Regions from separate parts of the Homo sapiens genome. Here region 1 is linked to region 2. Evidence: promoter capture Hi-C in 16 types of primary human blood cells and fetal thymus (Javierre and others, 2016). All regions are on one chromosome and are shown on one strand. Each heading gives the region's core, a stretch centred on a gene start or on the middle of the fragment in contact. The rest is flanking DNA. Distances are from core to core; before and after follow the strand shown.

Region 1 (3,008 bases), core at 272-2,771, 400 kb before region 2:
TGCATAAAATTCAGTTTTGTAGCCAAACATGGTGACGCACGTCTGTAATCCTGCTACTCAGGAGGCTAAGGCACGAGAATTGCTTGAACCCGGGAGACGGAGATTGCAGTGAGCCAAGATTGTGCCACTGCACTCCAGCCTGGGCGACACAGCGATACCCTGTCTCAAAACAAAAACAAAAACACCTCAGCTTTCTTCATTCTTTGTTGATGGACATAAATGTGGTTTATAAATAGTTTTATATACTATATGCCTACTATTATCACTTGAAAATATTTTTGAGTATTTGTACTCTCGTTATTAGCTGCGTGGTCCTTGGCAGAGTTTCCTGTGCTTCCTGAGCTTCAGTTTTCTCATCTATAAAATTAGGATAATTAATGTATACTTTGTAAGACCATAATGTCATAAAGATTAAATGAGATTAGTCCAGTCCCTGATACATGAATGGCATTTACTAAATACTAGCTCTCATTTGCTTTCTCTTTAATGGCCATTTATTATTCTATGGTATTACTACTTGTATTACTAGTTTTCATCAGTTTGTTATTGTTGGGCTATTGGGTTGTTTCCAGTTTCACTATTATAGTGTTGCTATAAACATCTCTTTACTAATCACTTTTTTTCTTTGTGATTATTTTCTTGAAGTCTATTCCCTATAGTTGAGATAGCAGAGAAAAGGGTATAAAAAGTTTTATGGGCTGGGCGTGGTGGCCCACACCTATAATCCCAGCATCCTTTGGGAGGGCAAGGTGGGCTCCCAAAGCTTGAGCTTAGGAGTTTAAGAACAGCCTGGGTAATATGGCCAAACCCTGTTTCTACAAAACAAACAAACAATGTGCGCCTGTAGTTCCAGCTACTGGTGGGGGAGGGGGTACAGCTGAGATGGGGGGATCACTTGAGCCAGGGAGATGGAGGTTACAGTGAGCTGAGATCATGCTACTGCACTCCAGCCTGGGTGACAAAGAGCGAGACACCGAGCTAAAAAAATAATAATAATAGAAATTAAAAAAAAAAAGTTTTATGGCTCTTGTCATGCATTGCCTTGCAATCTAATAAGACTGCGCCAATTTCTTACAATGCCATTATTGTGTAAGAGTATCTGTTTTCCCAGGGCCACCCAGACATTGGGCTTAATAATTTTTTTAAATTTTTACTAGTTTTCTAGGTATATAATGGCACCTTGGGGTTGATTTAATTTGGATTTCTTTAATACATTACAACGTTGTACACTATGTGATTTAGCTTTCAATTATATTCTGTCTTGTACATTAAAAAATATTTCATGTGTTAATCTTATCTCTCCAACTAGATTGTATAAGCTCTAAATTGTGTAACCTGAAACAAATGACTTAGCTTCTATGAATTTTATTTCTTATGAAATGAAATGAGGGGGTGATAATCTGTAAGGTTACTTCCATTGTTACGGTTCTAATTGCTTCTCTTTCCTCCAAATTTTTTTTTTTTTTTTTTTTTTTTTTTGAGATAGAGTCTTGTTCTGTTGCCTAGGCTGGAGTACAGTGGTGCAATCTCAACTCACTGCAACCTCCACCTCCCAGGTTCAGGCGATTCTCCTGCCTCACGCTCCTGAGTAGCTAGGAATACAAGCACCCGCTACCACACCTGGCAATTTTTTTTTTTTTTTTGTATTTTTAGTAGAGACAGGATTTCACCATGTTGGTCAGGCTGGTCTCGAACTCCTGATTTCAGGTGATCCGCCCGCCTTGGCCTCCCAAAGTGCTAGGATTACAGGAGTGAGCCACAGTGCCTGGCATCCTCTAACTCTTGATTCAGTACTCAGACTATCCTAAATTCTCTGCATTCATATGTTTTACCTGTTGAGTACATTTTCTGCAGAATAGCCAGGCAGATATTTTAAGAATGTAAATTTGATCATGTTACTTGCTTAAAACCCTTCAATGAATTTTCATTGCTCTTGGGATATATACCAAATTCCTTATTATACACAGAATTGCATGATTTGCCCAGTTTATGCATCAATTCCTGCTATTCTTTCCCTTATTCTCAGTGTTTCAGCCTCAAGGAGTTCCTCCTAACATATGCCCTTGGTCTCTTTTTTTCATATGGGAGTGGAGAAAAACTTCTATTCATCTTTCAGATTTTAGCAAAAATGTCTCAAGGAAGTTTAGATCTTGACTTAGTAATTGTGTAACCTTAGACAAGTTATTTAACCTCTCTGAGCCTTGATTTTCAAGTTTATAAAATGAGAAAAGCCTCCCTTCTAGAGTTGTGGTAAGGATTAAATGAGATAATACATATGAAAAGCTTAAAGAAACATTTGGCACATAGTGAATAACACTTATATAAGTAGAAGCTGGAGAAGGAGATGCTCAATATATAATTGCTGAGAGAGAATGCACGAATTAAGAGAAGAAAGAGTTGGTCATGGAAGGTTCTGTGGGTGAAGAATTTTTTCTTTTTACTAATTACTTCATTAAAAAATTTACTTTCTAGTTAGACAGATGGTGAAAAAAATTGTACCTGATTTCAGCAGAACTCGGTGTGTACCTATAATCCCAGCTTCTTGGGAGGCTGAGGCAGGAGGACAGCTGAGTCCAGGAGTTTAAGACAAGCCTGGGCAACAGCAACAAAAAATTACTGATTGCCTATTTTGTGCTAGGCATTGTGCTAGTACTAGGTGGCTCTGATTTTAATAGATGGTAAAAAGTGAGTAGGCAGTCTTGAGGACAGGAGGAAGAATTTGAGTCAAGATTCAGCCCAAGAGAATAGAAGATGGGTTAGAAGAGTGTTGGCTGCTGGCCGGGCGCGGTGGCTCAAGCCTGTAATCCCAGCACTTTGGGAGTCCGAGGCGGGCGGATCACGAGGTCAGGAGTTCGAGACCAGCCTGGCCAACATAGTGAAACCCCGTCTCTACTAAAAATACAAAAATTAGCCAGGCGTGGTGGCACGCGCCTGTAGTCCCAGCTACTCGGGAGGCTGAGGCAGGAGAATTGCTTCAACCGGGGAGGCAGAGGTTGTGGTGAGCCGAG
Region 2 (2,755 bases), core at 240-2,739:
CTCACTTCTTGAAAGCTCTAGGCACCCCCGCCTCCCGCCAGGCTCCCCATTGGCTCCTGGCAGGCCAGCTGAGAATGAACAGGAGATGGAGGCAGGCAGCCCAGGCTGCAGAGGTGAGGGATGTGGGGCCAGGCCCAGAGGGCTCAGCCTAGAGGCTTCCAATCTCAGATTCTCCTGCCTGTGGTCATCTGTTTGTCCATCACCCCAGGACAGGGCAGACAGAGGGGCAAAGCACTGGGGGCCCCAGAGCCTAGCTTCCCCTCAGCCTGGGGGACATCACAGCATTTCAGTGTCAGTCACATTTTAAACTGATCAGCCTTTGTATAATGTTTTTTAAATCATTTCTAAATAAAACAGAAATACAGAGTGTGTCATTTCCCTGGGATGAGGGAACAAAGATCAGGTTCCAAGAGTAACCTTAGGACGCTCTGGGAAGAGAACCGGGTCCTTTGGGGTGTCTGGGAGCTGCCCACCCATCTCCTCTGCCAGACCGGCGGTCAGATAGCCTCCCTCTACAACAGGCTGGCCCTGGGGGCCCAGGGTTATTGGGGTTCCAGGAACACAGCCTGATGATGCCTCCTTACGATCCAGGATGGAGAGCAGCCCCCCCAGGAGTATGGGGAGGGTCACTGTGGCACGGGCTTCTCCATGACCTGGGACATGACCTGGGACACATAGTCAAGAGCACGGTTATCAGCAATACAGATATTAATAAAAGGCAGACGAAGTCAGGAGGTCAGCAACTTTGCGGGCTTACCAGGAGGCCTGTCCTGCCTCTGGAAGCCAGCGACAGAGAGGGATGCCCCCGACCCAGCCAGCCGGAGAAAGGGATGGGGTGGTCACGAAGGTCTGAGCTGGGTCTGGGTGTAGGCTGGGAAGCAGGCTGGGGTGTAGACTGCGAAGGCGGCCCTGCCGGGACTTCTTTCCAGTCCCCGGCGACCTCTTCGAATTCTCTGCTATCTCTGGGGAGCCTCGGGTGGGAGGGGGTGTAAGAGACGCAGGGACGTGGGGAGAGGAGACAAGGCAGGCAAGAACCACAGGGGACGGCGGACAGACGGGCGACATCCTGCGGAGGACGCCGTCAGTACCAGGAAGTGCAGGCGATGAGGAAGCGCACGTCGTCCAGCGGCCCCCACGGGCTGGGCTCGGGCTGGGGCTGGGGCTGGGGCTGGGGCTGGGGCTGGGGCGGATGCCGGGGCTGTTCCGGGCCCTCCGGCGCCGCAGGCTGGGGCTGGGGCTGGGGCTGGGTTTGCGCAGGCTCCGGGGCGCCGCGGCCGCCGCTTAGCTGAGCCCCCATGGTCTGCAAGAAGAGAAGCCCTTTAAGGTCTGGGTCGCCGGGACACCCCGCTAGGGCCCCGCCCCGGCTCTGCCCTCACCTCTCGCAGCCAGACCCGCGGGTCTCCCGGAACCCACCTCGGCGTCGGGAGGAGCTGGCGCCGTGACGCCACCACCGCGTACCGACCTCACCCTCCGTGCGTTGGAGCGGAAAGAAGGGACTCGACCCTGTGCTTCGGGGCGGGGCTCCGCGACCGTCCCCCGCCAATCCCGCCCCAGCGCCTCAAGGCCCCGCCCCGCGCAAGGGGACGGAATGCACCCCAACAGCCTCCAAGACGCCCAGGCCAGGAGGACGCTGGGAACCCGCTGCCCCGCCCCACGCCCACCCAGGAAAAGACCTGCAACCTCCATCCACCTTAGTCAAAGAATGCCCCGAAGCCAGATGCCCCAGAGCTCTCACAGGGGACTTGCCCAGCTCAGGGGAAAATCGGAACGGACTCTCTGCCTTTCAAGGCCAGAGAAGACCGGCGCAGAAGTCGGGTGAAAACTGTGAGAACTAGACCGGGCGCCGTGGCTCACGCCTGTAATCCCAACACTTTGGGAGGCCGAGGCGGTGGGTCGCTTGAGTTCAGGAGTATAAACCAGCCTGGGCAACACAGTGACTTCGTTTCTACAAAAAAATAAACGAGGCGAGAGGATCGCTTGAGCCCAACAGGTCAAGGCTACAGTGAGCCATCCTTGCGTCACAACACTCCAGCCTGGGTGACAGAGGGAGACACTGCCTCAAAAAGAAAAAAGAAAAAAGGAGAACTGTAGTGGAGAGTGTTTCTTGCCCCAGGATGAAGCCTCACATCCTGATGGTAGAGGAGAAGGGAATGGCGTGTGTGGAGGTGGTGAACTGGGTTGGGTGTGTGTTGTGTTCATCCCACCCTATCTTCCCAGAATGCTGGAACAACTGGAGAGTGCAGGGATTGTACACAGGCTGAGGGCCCCAAACATCACATTCAGAATGGCCCGGAGGGAACTGCACTTTAATGGGGTGGCACAGGACAGCAGAACCCTCAGCCAGCAGCCACAGGGCCTGCCAGCCAGCACAACAGAGCAGGTTTTTGCAGTAATGATAGATCCAGGCGATAAGCACAGGTGGAAAAGGGTTGGGTGCCCAGCCCCTCAGTCCCAGTGAGCTCTCTGCCACCTCCCTGCCAGCATCCGGTACAGATTGGGCGGAATGTGGAGAAGGTTGGCCACAGTCCAGAGCCAGGAGCCCATGGAACAACTTGGAAGGTGACTCAGGTGAGGCTGAAGAGAAAGGAAAGCGCACGGTCAGTAGCTGTTTCACAGAGCCCACCTCACTCTCAAGTGAGGTGCCTGCCTCAGCCCTCATCCCGGGACCAGCTCTGACAAGCTGCTCAAGCAGCTACTGCTCTAGTATCCTAGCCCTGAAAAACCACAAAGATGAGGATTAGCAGATGCTCAAGAA

The links. The method cuts DNA at HindIII sites, captures the fragments that hold promoters and counts their contacts. A CHiCAGO score of 5 or more calls a contact.
Region 1: a contact is called between a fragment that was not itself captured here and the fragment with the promoter of MMP24-AS1-EDEM2 in region 2, in 1 of 17 cell types (endothelial precursors). The highest score is 6.4, in endothelial precursors.

Annotation. Positions count from the first base shown.
Region 1 is chr20:34,879,566-34,882,573 of GRCh38, forward strand. The region is part of intron 1 of ACSS2 (acyl-CoA synthetase short chain family member 2); the gene reads left to right. Among named protein-coding and RNA genes, the nearest start is that of ACSS2, 4.5 kb to the left of the region's middle. The HindIII fragment of the contact is 1,520 bases long and covers 762-2,281 here.
Region 2 is chr20:35,276,633-35,279,387 of GRCh38, forward strand. MMP24-AS1-EDEM2 (MMP24-AS1-EDEM2 readthrough) reads right to left here and starts at 1,490. Exons shown (of 15, transcript NM_001355008.2): 1 at 1,414-1,490. It overlaps MMP24 (matrix metallopeptidase 24), which reads left to right. Exons shown (of 9, transcript NM_006690.4): 9 at 1-366. It overlaps MMP24OS (MMP24 opposite strand), which reads right to left and starts at 1,490. Exons shown (of 2, transcript NM_001355003.2): 1 at 1,377-1,490; 2 at 1-1,300. The coding sequence starts at 1,297. The coding sequence ends at 1,082. It overlaps EIF6 (eukaryotic translation initiation factor 6), which reads right to left. Exons shown (of 7, transcript NM_002212.4): 7 at 2,286-2,574. The coding sequence ends at 2,565. RefSeq lists enhancers at 1-33, 620-719, 840-1,009 and silencers at 1,140-1,359, 1,450-1,669. The HindIII fragment of the contact is 17,447 bases long and covers 1-2,755 here.